5 separate regions of the Homo sapiens genome follow, and regions 2, 3, 4 and 5 are each linked to region 1. Evidence: promoter capture Hi-C in 16 types of primary human blood cells and fetal thymus (Javierre and others, 2016). All regions are on one chromosome and are shown on one strand. Each heading gives the region's core, a stretch centred on a gene start or on the middle of the fragment in contact. The rest is flanking DNA. Distances are from core to core; before and after follow the strand shown. Region 1 holds the start of FAM180A (family with sequence similarity 180 member A). Region 2 has its middle 100 kb from the start of MTPN. Region 3 has its middle 81 kb from the start of MTPN. Region 4 has its middle 62 kb from the start of MTPN. Region 5 has its middle 46 kb from the start of MTPN.

Region 1 (2,736 bases), core at 89-2,588:
CAAGGAGGGCACCTAGCACGCTGTCTGAAGCAAATTAAGCACCTAATAGCTATTATTAATATTAGTGAGCGTACTGGTTTTCAAATGTTGTAGTCTAGTATTTTTTCCCCCAAAAAAACTGGTTGTTTTTTTTTTAATTTTTTTAAGAGGAAAGTTCTTACTCTGTCACCCAGGCTGGAGTAGAGTGTTGTGATCATAGCTCACTGCAGCCTTGAACTCCTGGGCCTAAACAATCCTTCTGCCTCAGCCACCTGAGTGACTAGGACTACAGGCACATGCCACCACGCCCAGCTAATTTTTTAATTTTTTGTAGAGACAGGGTCTATTTTCTCTAGGTTGGTCTTGAACTTCTGGCCTCAAGCAATTCCCCCACTTCGGCCTCCCAAAGTGTTGGGATTACAGGCGTGAACCACCATGCCCGGCTCCCAAACAACTTCTTATAGCAGATAAAAGAGGAGCTTTTGCAGTAGAGTAGAGCTTTGAGGAGCCCTCTTGGGGAGCCCATTCACCCTGGGCACCACCTCCACAAACTGGAAAACCCACAGGATGACATAATCTTTAAGTGTCCTTCAAGCTTTAGCATTCCCTATCATTTCAGAGAAGTTGAGGAAGTGATTGGGAAAGAATTAAGGTGTCTATGGCAGTATATTACAACGACTATGGAAAAACACTCCCATTTTGCTTGGGAAAATCAAAGTGGCTTGGCCCCAGGTCTAGGCACAGCCCAGAAATGGGAGCATCACCAATGTGAGTTGTGGGGCTTGGCCCCAGGTCTAGGCACAGCCCAGAAATGGGAGCATCACCAATGTGAGTTGGGGGTCCCCGTGGGCTCCTGGATCATTACCTACGCACGTTCACACAGACAATACCGATGCACCATGTCACCTCTCCACTTCGGCTCGGTCACAACCTGCCAACTCCCCACCCACCCAGAACCTGGGCAGACCAGACACAGGCTCTAGGCGCCAATGTCCTAGTCTAGCTCCAGGGCCAGGCAACAGTGACACTCAGCCCAGGCACCACAATGATTTTGCTGTCCTGAAGGCAACTTAGGCTCAACCAGCCCTGGTGTCTGCCAGGCAGGCTCCCAACTCTGCCTCCAGCCCTCGCCCCTGGCTCTGGTATCGTATGTGTGGACGGGGAGAGCAGCCAACTCTTCGCCGGGCTCTCTAACAAGTTCCGCGGGTCTGTTTGTTAAAGAAAAATTCCAGTGGGTGCATCCAACACATGGAACTCAAGTACAGAAATTATATTTATCCGCCCCACTGCCAAGGAGATCACATGCCCCGTGAGTCACTCCAGATGTGCTCAAAAACAGAGTCTCTCTGTGGAAGGCCAGTTCCCCAATCCCAGAGAGCGTCAAATGAAGAGAGGTACCGACTCCTGTCCCACCCAGGACGCAGCCTTCAGCCTCCAGCCTTCTGAGGCAGAGTAGGCATTTCTGCACGTCTGCAAAAGGAAGGGAGGGAAGCACTCCATCATCTCACTGGGAAGAACGGCACGGGCATACCTGCAGCTACTGGGGTTCCACTGGGCTTGAGGGTCGATTTTTCACCTTTTGAAGGACAAGATGCATTGGAAGATGTTGCTGCTTCTGCTGTTGTATTACAATGCTGAGGCTTCTATGTGCCACAGGTGGAGCAGGGGTGAGTTGCTTTTTATTCATTTGTTTGTTTGATGCTCATTATACTTTCTTCAATGCAATTCAAAATTTGGAGGGAAGGACATTAGAAGCCCCGCACTCTCCTTTTGTCTAATCTCTGTCAATTCCTTGATGCTTCTTGACGTGTTCCCCCTTCTTAGAGGGTGATGGGGAAATGACACTGGAAAAAATCAAAGCTCCTGAGGGAATTAGGTTGAGGTGGAGAACCCAGAGAGTACCCCTTTCTGGCATCCCAGAGAGAACTCATTTCTGCTTCATAGAAAGTAGAACTCATTTCTTCGACTGCCCCCACCACCTGCAGCAGTTGGGCCAGACCGTCTGGAGAGCAGGTGCTGAGACCTGCTGCTAAAATGATGGAGTGATGGGCACTGGGATGCCAAAGGCCTGCTCCCTGGGGGAACCAGAGCAGAAGCTCTGCAGAACGTTGCCTCCTCACCGGGAGGGGATGCATCTCTGCAGCCAGAGGTGGGCAGGTGAGGAGAGCAACCCTTCAACCTCCACTGCACCCACCAGCTCCGCCACCTCCTCACAAAGGAAGGGGCCCCAGCAAAGGCTGTTCTCTTATCACTGACTTCCTCCCCCTCAGGATGTAGTTCCTCCTAGCTGGATGGCATCTTTTCTCCATTTCCCTGGGAGTGGCTCTGCTTGGTAGACACTGGGAGCACCTCGAGCCAGAGTTTATCACTGTTAGGAAAGGAGGGACCCACGGCACTGCCCACTCTTCACCAATATGAACGGAAATCTTTCCACTGCCTAAAGTCAACTGAGTTCACTCTCCTAGAAAGAACCGCAAGAAGAACAGGCTCCTTCAAGTCAGGCCAGTAGGTGTTTCTAGAGATGCAAAATTGGAAGGCAACTGGCATGGTGGCATGGATGCGCCTCCTGCTTGCTTCTCAAGGACAGTGTCAGGGAAGGAAGGAGTGGCCGGAGTGGGGATAGAGCAGCGCGAGAGAAGGATCTGAAATGGGAGGGAGGCAAAAGCTACTGTACTTATGCTGGGTTTTATTTCCTCATGGTTAAACGTGACATTAGGGACTTACATCTCTAACAGGGATATAAGTCTTTTGAGCTGA
Region 2 (2,736 bases), core at 93-2,592, 330 kb before region 1:
AAGTAAACCTCATTAGTAATCAAAGAAATGCAGATTAAAATCAAAATGGCCCCATTTTTTACCTATCAAATAAGTTTTTGCTTCTTTGATTATTTCTGTTTTTAATGGTACTACTCAATTCTGGCAAGAATGAGGTAAAATAGATAGTTTAAATACTTTCACAAACTGCTGGTACCAGCACAATTGGTTGGAACACTCTTTCTGAAAAATAATTTGCATATCATTGACTTTAGTTAGAATATACATTTGCACCTAGTAATTCTTCTAGGTATTCCTGGGAATTTCTTAACATATCAACAAAGATTTGTCTCTAAGATGTTCATAGCAACTTTGTGGCAAATAATGGAAGGGCAAGGGAAGACCTAAACAGACATTAGAAAATGTTTAAGCACATTACAGTATATTTATACACTGAAATATTATATAAATCTTTAAAAATGATGTTTATAAAGAATTTTTTATTTCATTGGGAACTACTTACTATATATTGTTTTGCCAAAAAAAAAGGATGCAAAATCTTTTGATGTAAATGCAGCAAATTTTTTAAATGAAAATAAAAAGATTAAAAATAGCTATCCCATGGTGCTGGGGTTATAGGTAATTTTTCTGCTTTTTTTCTTTTTGTTATTAAAATTTTAAGAGCATATATTATTTTAAAAGAAAAACATACAGCAGGGGTTCATAACCTAAGGTTGGTTGATGGATGGGCTTTGGTGTGTCGCTAACTTCTTTAATACAATTATGCAATTTTTATGTGTAACCAAATTTCCCTGGAGGGTGATAGGTTTCAAAGGATTCTGTTATCCAGAATTATTAAAACTTAGTTATTGAAAACTTTTAGAAAGAGGTTTAGAAGAGTCATAATTACATATTACATTTCAAATTTCCCCACATCTTTATATTAAAGAGCTTATATTTTACATATAATGATTTTAAAAATTAAACTTCAGCAATAGTTCGTTTGATATTCAAATGGAAAAACTCTTAAGATACCATGAGTATCTTTCTCATTTAAATTATAACCACTACTAAAACTGTTATTCCATAAATATTTATGGAGCACTTATAAAGGAACACCATGAAGCATAAAAAAACTTTTTCAGATAAGAACTCCAGGTTCAAGGTACACTGAAATAAGATGTACTATATTGTCACATAATGATGTATGTATGTATGTGTGTGTGTATTGTGTGTGCATGTAATTATGTGGGCGTTTATATCTATTCATGCCTTACTTTGTTCAAAAAATATTTAAGGAAGCTTACCAAAGTAAATATAACAACATAGCATAAAATAAAATGTCAAGTAAGTAGGTGAGTCAATTGGGACAAAGGCTAAAATGAGATTGAAAAGGTAAGGTAAAGCCAAGAGTAAGGTCAGTACTCCCAGTTCATGCCAAAGTGTTAAGTTTCCTTATAAGCTTAACAAAGAGGCAACCGTGATCTGTTACATGATTCTTGGTGCCCAGAAGATAAAAAGAAACCAGTCACTCAAGAGAAGCCCGACTACTGCTAGTTCTAACATCGAAGTGCAAGTTCTCCCATGAGTCCTCATAAAGAGGACAGCTTGTAATATAATGAACACTTCACGGGATTACATAATGAACTCCCTCATGTAAAATACTAAGCAAAAGCATGTGTGTCATACTAGGTATCATCAGGACACCTTCACTGGCCAGCCTATTTAAAATTGCAACACCCCAACTCCCTCCCTTGCTTTATTTTTTCCTGTAGCACTTATCATCAACTCTCATTTTCTTTCCCTTTTTGTAATCTGTCTTCTCCCCACTAACTTAAATATAAATAGAATAAACACAGAGATTTTTGCCTATCTCATTCATTGGTATTCCAGGGCTTAGAAGATAATCTTGCATGTAGAAATTGTTCAATACATATTTATTGAATAATGAATACATAAATTATCAACAGCATTATTATTATCATTATTATTGGCAGGATTCACAGAATTCTTTTGCATAATATTCTTCAAGGTAAACAAAGGATAAAGTTAAAATATAATTTACCAAAAGCAAGTCTATAGAAGTCAAAACAATGTGATATAAGACTATAGCTTTCAGCGGTCAAGATACAGACTTCATAATATCTAAAGGAACCCATAAACTGCAAATTTTTAAACAATCCTTCATAAATATAGATTTGATTGTTATGATAAAGCCACAAACTGGGTTTATATTCCCTAAAAGCATTTGGAAAGCAGGTATTCTATGTTCCTGTGAAGTGCACAGCTGTATGATTTGGCTCATCTAAACTGGGTAAGAAATTAGAACGAAGAGACTGAAAAATGACATATGCCTGAAAATAAGTTTTGTCGCCTCCCTGCAGAGACAGGCCAAGGGATAACCCCCAGCCAGAGCCAAGTTCTTTCTCAGAAAAAGATTAGCTGTTCATGTTAACATAAAGGCCGTTAGACAACCATGACACCAAATGTTTCTGCCATAGTTTAATAGCCATACGAATTTTAGCTTAGAAAAAATTTAAAACAAGATAGCCAAATGTTCATCTGAGCCATAAAACATCTTAGTAAGACCTCCATGAGATAACATAACCTTTTAGTATATTCCAGCTGTAAAACATATACTTAAATAAGCAAATAAGCTAACTTGCTAAGTAGATATGTTTTCCACAAGGGGCTTAAATGTCAAGAGATATTTACAAATATAAGAACTTTCATTTGATAATAATTGCTCTGTATCTATTCTTTGTGAAACTATTATAT
Region 3 (2,736 bases), core at 148-2,647, 310 kb before region 1:
TTTTTTCTTAAATAAGGTAGCATAGATATCAAGCTCCTCACCATGGCTTACAAACTCCTACATGCCCTGCCTACCTCTCCAACAAAATCTCATATCCCTCTGCCCTTTGAACATTAATACTCCAGCCACACCTGACTGCTTTCTGTTCATCTGTCTTGCCAGTTTTCCTCCCTCGGACCTTGGCACTTATTTGCTACTTCCGCAAAGAAATACATCCCCCCAGCTCTTTGCATGCCTGGGTCCTTCTCATCCTGTAGGCCTTTGCTCAAACATCACTTTCTCAGAGATACCTTTCCTGATCACCCAATCTAAAATAATGCTTCCCTCAACCCCCTACTTAAAACTCTATCATATTGTCCTCTTTCCTTCTTGTTTATTGAGGCCTTGTTCGCTGCTGTGTCTCATGTCTCAATAGTGTCGAGCACATAGTAGACCCTCAACAAATGATTGTAGATGAATGAATGAATGAATGAATGGATGGATCTATTGGTTTGTGTAATATGTATCACAAAACATCCCTTTTAATGATCCCCACTGTGTTCCATCATATAAATATAACAAACAGTTTAAAATATTCCATTATAACAGGTCAGACAAGAAAGAAATTGAGTAAAGCTGTAAAATGTGGAAAAACAGAAAATGCAAAACCATGCATAAAAAGTTGCCAAATTCACTCCTATTGATTCATCAAAATTGCCTTACCGATTCGTTGAATTGCCTAGACTATCTATTTTCTATGAGGCTGCCTTCAACAAGCACTTTCCAGTACCCCTAAAGCCACTCATTAAAGATATGGATGAAACAAAAGCATAGAATCATAAGCTACTGCTCTTATCACTGTGGACATGCCCCATTAGTAAGTCTTCATTATGGCTCCCCACACCCGACTTCACCAGGGCCACTTGCGTGTCTTCCTTGTTCTGCAGACTGTGTGTCTTGTAAAGTCCCACCTTGATAACTGGTCAGTCTCCCCACAGACTTGCTGGGCAGGCCCTTTGTATCCCTTATATGGCATTTTCCATCTACCATTTAATCATCCAGCAACACCTGGCATTAAGGACAGTTGTTACCTGGCTGGGTAGTGTCAACACAGAGGCTCACACCAAGACAGGCCAGATCTGGCCTCCTACCTACTACCCTTCACTACTCCTGCACCAGAACCCTCTCCTGTTGAAAGGATGGGCTAGATCTTTAACACAGAGCTGCTTCTTTGGTTTGTGTTAAAAGATCTTCTCCAAACCAGCTGAAAAGACCTCTTGTTTCTCTATTAATTCCTTGAAGCTAAGACTTTTCCTTCTAATCTAGCCACTAATCTAAAATATGAGCCCAAGTTGATTTTTTTGTTTATTGTTCACCTCACTTGACCTGCAATTAAAGTGCCTACCAGTTCCATTTTCTCTCAGTTACACATGATTAACCAATGCTGTCTTGAAAATGAATAGGAGCTGAAAGAGGGCTGCCTTTTGACAGAGCTTCCATCCTTCCCTTAGAGGTCCCCAGGTCTGTTTCCAATCAGAGAAATCCACAAGAGATTCTCCCTTGGAATTCTTACTCACATACCACATTCCTGCTGCATTTAATCTTTCTGTTTTTTTTTTAACCTGTAGATTCTCCTAAACTTCTTGGGAAACATGTAATGATATTTAATTTTAATTCTATGGCTGCAATGGATTTTGCTGATTAGAAATGGAGGCTTCTTGATGCAGTACCTTAATCTTCTTTAAAAACAGCTCCTGGAGTTCTCTGCAGCTGTAAATTATAAAAACCAAAGCAGGATTAAAAAATACACATGCACTGTGCATAATTATTTAAAAGTGCAACACATCGGCTTAAACAGTAATATAAATGCATCTTTGAGATAAATGAGGCATTAGTGGTATAAGTTTTGATTATTGGTTACTCTTCTCTGGTTTTAAGATGTGGTAAGAATATAAATCACTCCAAAGGGAAAAATTAACTCATACCTGTCCTGTCACCTCTTGGATCAGGAGATAGACATAATAAACACGATGAATCCTTCTGCTTCTGTTACAATAGGAGGCATTCCCCACCTGACCCATGGCCCCTCTGTTACCTGCCCTCATAGACCACGTCTTTTATTTCAGATTCATGTTTAAATTTATAATTTTATTTGGCACCAGACTATAAATTCTCTCAGGGTGGCCTTGTTGTTATTCTCATCACAATCATACTCCTAGCATAAGGTCACCAAACAATACTAGTTTGCCTGGGACTGTCCCAACTAGGGCACTAAAAGTCTTGCATTCCAGGCAACCCCTCAGTTGCAGGCAAACTGGGACAATGGTTTCCCTATCCTAGCACCACAAACAGCTTTTAAATGAAGGTACAGGCATAACAAGTAGCATATATCATTCCTAAAAGAAATAACATTCATGAACAATAGAATAGTGCAGTGGTCAAGAGCATGACCATGGAACTAGACAACCTGGGTCCAAATCCACGCTCTGCCATTTCCCAATTACGTGATCTTGGATTACTTCATCTCTCTGTGTCTCAGTCTCTTCCTCTGTAAAATGGGAAGTTAATGGTAGCAGCCACAAAAGGACGTTTGAAAATCAAATTAGTTAACGTAGGTAAAGTTGTTAGGTAAAGTTAAGTTGTTAAGAATAGCGCACAACATGTTTTATTAAAATTATGAACACATCTGGCTGGGCACGGTGGCTCATGCCTGTAATCCTAGCACTTTGGGAGGTCAAGGCAGGCAGATCACTTGAG
Region 4 (2,736 bases), core at 89-2,588, 290 kb before region 1:
CACTTGAGGCCAGGAGTTCAAGACCAGCCTGGCCAACATGGCGAAACCCCATTTCTACTAAAAATACAAAAATTAGCCAGGCGTGGTGGGGCACGCCTGTAATCCCAGCTACTCAGGAGGCTGAGACAGGAGAATCACTTGAACCCCAGAGGCAGAGGTTGCAGTGAGCCAAGATCGTGCCACTGCATTCTGGCCTGGGCAACAGAGCAAGACTCCATCTCAAAAAAAAAAAAAAAAAAAGAAAAGAAAAAAAGAGAAAAAGAAAAATCAAACCACCCTAGCACCCCAGAAAGACAACTGGCATATTTACATTTGGTGGGGGGAGAGGGAGTCTCTTGATGAAGAGGCCAGATGGTCTGCTTTGTAGTAAAGCCCACCATCAACAACCTCCCCACTCACCCCCACCCCACCGCCCCCCCACACACACACAGATGTTCCAATCAGCTTTCAATCTAGAGCTTCACTCATATATGAACAGACAACTCAAGATCATAAATGCTTGAAAAGAAAGACTTCAACATGAAAAGGTGAATTCAAAAGCAATAGCCAAAAAAGAAAAGGATCTTAGAAGAAAGGTAAACAATTAGGTAACACTCAAAACAAACCAAAAAAAATTGCAATTAATATCAGAGAGCTTAGATAATGCATTTGTAAAATAAAAATTGATATTTTTAAAATCATACAACAAGCAGAAGCTCTTAGAACTTAAAACCATGACAACTAGGATGAAATACTTAATAAAAGGAATGGAGAATAATGTCAAAGAAATCTCCCAAAAAGTAGAATCAAAAGGCAAAGAGTTAGGAAACGGGAGAGAAAATACAGGGGACCAACAGCTGACTGCTGGAGTTCTAAAAAGGAACAAAGAACTAGATGAGTAGAAATTATAATAGATACTAGAAGCAATTTTGCAAATTTAAGGGCGTGATCTCAATACTTAAAAGGCCCAGCAAACACCTGCCACAATCATTTTTTGTTAAACCTCCAAATTGCATAATCATGGAGTTAGGGAATAATAGGTATGAAGAGAACGTCATAATTGCATTTGTCAGAGTAGCATCTGACTTTTCTCAAAAGCAACACTGGGTATAGAAGAAAGTGGAGCAATGCTTGTAAAATTCTGCTAGACAGTTATTTTCAACCTAGAATGCTTCCACTAGACAAACAGGGTGTGCTTGTGTAGAAGTCTAATAATAACACACATGAGGAAGCAAGGACTAAAAAACATTACTTCCCATGAGTGCTTTCTAAGGACACTCCTGGAGTACATGCTTTAATAAATTGAGGGAGAAAAATCAAGAGAGGAAGACTGGGAATCCAAAACACACAGGTCATCATTCCTATGTTTTCCTACGCAAGTCATCAGTGAAAGGAAGTGACCCCTGAACAACGGCTGTGCACCAAGTCCGGAGGGCAGCAGGGCCAGCTCAGAGCAGCAAATGGTTACTATGGCACAAGGGTGTAGGGGTGGCAGAGAGTGCAACTGATGATTTTGAATGTTTACATCATTTTTTTCTGAGTGGCTGACAGATATGTTGAAGCATTTAGAAAAAATTATAAAATGGAGAAGGAGGAAGGAATCCTCACTCACCATAACAGGAAGTCAGCAACTACTGACTGAAATCAATCACAAAACAGCAGTAATGGCATATTGTTAGATACATGGAGAAAAACATCAAAAGAATCAGCTAAAGTTATTGAAAGCGGCTGCCTCTGGGAACTACCTAGAACATCCAGCATATTGCATCTTCATCAGAATTATTTCAGTTGCAAGTGATAGAAACTCAAATTAGTTTAAGCAGAAAGAAGAATGTATTAGCTTACTTAGCTTTTAAAAACATGGATCAAGATAGCTAGATTCAGGTTTTCAATAACATTTATATAATATCCGCAAGAAATTGTCTCTTGTTCTCCATGTCTCATCTCTCCATCTCCTGCTTTCTTTTCCCTGGATTGGCTTAACTTTCCGGCAGACTTACCCCATATGGGAACAAAGATGACCTCCTGCAGCTCCAGACTTCCAGGCCCTTAGCTTTCAAACTCTAAGAATGATACAATGGCTCAGTCCTGGTAGTTCTGGCAAAAATCCCAGGACTGGCTCTCATTGATCTGGGTTTGGTCATATGGCCAGCCTTGAAGCAATCTCTTTAGCCAGGATACTTTGATGCTATGATGGGCCTATGTCACATTCTCACCCTTGGAGTCAGAAAAATGAGGTCAGCTCCACCTGATATACATGGACTAAGGAGAGTAGTTCTCCAAAATGAAGTTGGGGTATGCGATAGTTCATTTTATTGTCATTTTTACTGGCAACAACTCAGGTACTCAAATATGTGGCCCAACAGTATTCTAGACGTTTCTGTGAGGTATTTTTTAAATGAGGTTGACATTTACATCAGTAGACTTTGAATAAAGTAGATTATCCTCCATAATGTGGGTGAACCTCATCCAATCAGTCAAAGGCCTAAGGAGAAAAAAACTGATCTCCCCCAAGAAAGAGGGAATTATGCCAGCAGACTGCCTTCAGGCTTAAGCAGCAGTATCAACTTGTTCCTGGTTCTTCAGCCCGCTGGCCTGCCCGGCAGATTTTGGACTTTCTGGCCCTCCACAATCACATGAGTCAATTCCTTAAGATGAAGAGATATATATATATATATATATATATATATACACATATATATATATACATATATATATATGCATACATCCTCTCTGCTTCTATTACTAGATAGAAAA
Region 5 (2,736 bases), core at 130-2,629, 270 kb before region 1:
AGCCCATCCTATCTGATGCCAAGTCCCGTGTGTTTGTTTAATCAGTATATACAAATGAGTCTTAATTAATTGTGTAATAGACAGTCATTAAGATTAATTAATAAGATAAACTATAACATTAGTAACATAAATGAATATGCTTTGCTGTTATTCAATTAACTGAGCTAGGGCTGTTTTTCCAAGAAATGTGGACAAGGCTACCACAGTAACTACTGTACATGTCAATATCATTCCTGGTACAACTTGGGTAAATCGCTATTCACATGTACTTTGTTTTCACATCCATCTTTAAATTCATGGAAGCATTTCTAATAATAGTAATAAGTGGGAAAACAACTTGCAGTTAGGGTTCATGAGGAGCCCAGTTCCTTCCCTCAGGTCTGAAGTGACACTGGCTTCTCCTAAACCAATTGACCAAAGCAGACCACTGTTGAGCCACTGCCTGAGCTGTTACAGGACAGCACTACCCTCTCCATTGCTTTCACAGGGAAGGGGACAGAGCAAAATGATATAAAAAGTGTCTTATCACTTAAGGTCAGTGGTCCTTTCAATTTAGGATTCTGCCTCTAGGAATGGTACCAAGAAGTGGTGTTTGGGACCCCAAGGTGTAGCCTCAGAAAGTGTTAGAAGACAACTCCAAGCACTGTAGCTTTCCTTAGGAACATTAGTATTCTCCATGAGCTTATTTCTTCTTATTTGTCAGGTAACAGTGATGCTTCCTCATCCTAACACATCATCATTTAGTGAGCAAGGCCTTATTCTAGTGAAGGAGTTAAGACTATGACACCCCAAAATACGCTGCTCTAGCATATTGACTATTTTGAAATAAAGGCACTTAAAAAAATAGTAAGTACAAAAAGATCACTCTAATCTCCATTCTGTTTCTTAAAAGCAAGAGACAAAATTCCCACATGAAGGAGGTCCTCCCTATACCAGAAAGAAAGCAACAATCTTATCAAGAATAGAAAGTTGAAGCCTAGGGAAGTTTATACAAGCAAACCTTGTTAAACTAACTCTTATTTTCCTGGTCACGTCTCTACCCAATTAGCTAACCTAGCCCAAGCCCCTTTACTTATCACATTTTCACAACTTGCTTTTCTTTGTCCAATTCAGTATGTAAGCGATGGGCTCTAACTGCTCCTTTGGGTCTTCATTTCCTTATGAGGTCTCCTGTGCCACATAAAGCTTGTATAAAATAAATGTGTGTACTTTTCGTCTATTAATCTAGCTTATGTCAACTTAATTCTTGGGCCCAGCCAGACCCTAAGAGGAAGGAAGTAGAAATTTGCCTCCCCAACACTGGCCACAGCTGAAGGCAGATAGAAGACGGCATCCCAGACCCAGACACCACCAGCCACTCCCCACTGTGGTCCAGAATTGCCCCTTCACCAACCATGCAGAATAGCAAACCTCTTGCCTCATGAGTAACACTAAATAAATAAAGCTCACAATTAATGTTGTAATTACAGCTGGAGGAATAATTTGCAACCTGAGTGTGGTAACTCACCCAGGGTACCAAGAGGCTCATAGTATTTACTTTCCTGATTCTGGAGAGCCCATCCTGTAAAGCTTTGTTGACTTTCCAAATGCTGTGGCTGGGTTTTTTTTTTAATAGATCATTTAAAGAACTCAAGAAGAAACCCATTATGATTGCTTACAGAACTCAATAAAAGACACAAAAACCTTTATATGTGAGTTTTCAATGTGTTTGCCTGGTTTCTCATTTACTTATAGACCCAGAGACTGCTCCAATTCACCATCTTTATGCTCATCTCCCTGTTAACTTTTTCCATTTCCCTGGTGCTAGTCATGGTAATCGGCATGGCTTCTATGTTGAAACCAGCTGCCCTCTAGTTGACTTACCCTGTTCTTTCATTCATTTTTTTTCATTCATTTGTGCTATAAACATTTATTGAGTCCCTACCACAGCCCAGGTCCTGCTAAGTATGTTTATCTGTGTTACTAACTCACTGGGAACATTGAAATCACTTCAAACAGACCCTAATTTTTTATTTAACAATGAATGGAAAATTCAGTTCTATTTTTCCCCAGAATCCCAGTTGACTTTTGAGTTCCCCCTTGGAGCCTCCTTAGAATGGAGTCTAGCTCTGCCCCCTCCTTATGTCATCATCCCTGCTGTTCAAGGAGAACTCAGCAGTTAGAGGATTGTGGATTTTGGCATTGGTCAAATTTGACCCACATTTATCACACTTACCAGATGTAAGAACAGAAACACGTTTTATAAATTCTTCAAGTCTCCATTCACTCATTTACCAAATAGGACAATCACATCTATTTCACAGCATTGTTCAAAGGCTCAAATAAGTTACTACAAGTATGCAAAGAGGCAGCCAATAAATGTTACTTCTCCAATACATATCGCTTTCTTATTTACATGTGCTCCTTATTTATATTCTGTTATATATTCATTCATTGTAATTTAGTGAGCACCTATTTTACATGCTAGGCTGTGAGGAAACAGTGGGAAACAAACTGTCAGGGAGGAAGCACATTCCATGGAGTTGTCTGGAGCAGATAAACTCTATGCAAATAAATATAAAGAGAGCTCAACATTTTTCTACTTTTAAAATAGAGCAGAAAGTGACAGCTTCAAAATTTCTAAATAAGAAGGGCTTAGAGGCCATCTGGATGGAATGGAGACTTGCATTAAGGCTGTATTTGAAAAGCAAGCTAGATTTTTTACTAAGAATCTATGTACATGGGACAGGTGGGCCC

The links. Contacts are between HindIII fragments. The CHiCAGO score rates a contact against its expected background, and 5 or more counts as called.
Region 2: a fragment that was not itself captured here is called in contact with the fragment with the promoter of FAM180A in region 1 in 1 of 17 cell types (total CD8 T cells); the score reaches 5.0 in total CD8 T cells.
Region 3: a contact is called between a fragment that was not itself captured here and the fragment with the promoter of FAM180A in region 1, in 1 of 17 cell types (total CD4 T cells). The highest score is 5.9, in total CD4 T cells.
Region 4: a contact is called between a fragment that was not itself captured here and the fragment with the promoter of FAM180A in region 1, in 1 of 17 cell types (neutrophils). The highest score is 5.1, in neutrophils.
Region 5: a fragment that was not itself captured here is called in contact with the fragment with the promoter of FAM180A in region 1 in 2 of 17 cell types (activated CD4 T cells and neutrophils); the score reaches 5.7 in activated CD4 T cells.

The regions. Positions count from the first base shown.
Region 1 is chr7:135,747,415-135,750,150 of GRCh38, reverse strand. FAM180A (family with sequence similarity 180 member A) reads left to right here and starts at 1,338. Exons shown (of 4, transcript NM_205855.4): 1 at 1,338-1,646. The coding sequence starts at 1,571. The HindIII fragment of the contact is 5,471 bases long and covers 577-2,736 here.
Region 2 is chr7:136,078,534-136,081,269 of GRCh38, reverse strand. It overlaps a transcript of LOC105375523 not described here. Among named protein-coding and RNA genes, the nearest start is that of MTPN, 100 kb to the right of the region's middle. The HindIII fragment of the contact is 160 bases long and covers 1,263-1,422 here.
Region 3 is chr7:136,057,479-136,060,214 of GRCh38, reverse strand. It overlaps a transcript of LOC105375523 not described here. Among named protein-coding and RNA genes, the nearest start is that of MTPN, 81 kb to the right of the region's middle. RefSeq lists an enhancer at 1-2,335. The HindIII fragment of the contact is 6,518 bases long and covers 1-2,736 here.
Region 4 is chr7:136,038,455-136,041,190 of GRCh38, reverse strand. It overlaps a transcript of LOC105375523 not described here. Among named protein-coding and RNA genes, the nearest start is that of MTPN, 62 kb to the right of the region's middle. The HindIII fragment of the contact is 4,729 bases long and covers 1-2,736 here.
Region 5 is chr7:136,022,421-136,025,156 of GRCh38, reverse strand. It overlaps a transcript of LOC105375523 not described here. Among named protein-coding and RNA genes, the nearest start is that of MTPN, 46 kb to the right of the region's middle. The HindIII fragment of the contact is 384 bases long and covers 1,188-1,571 here.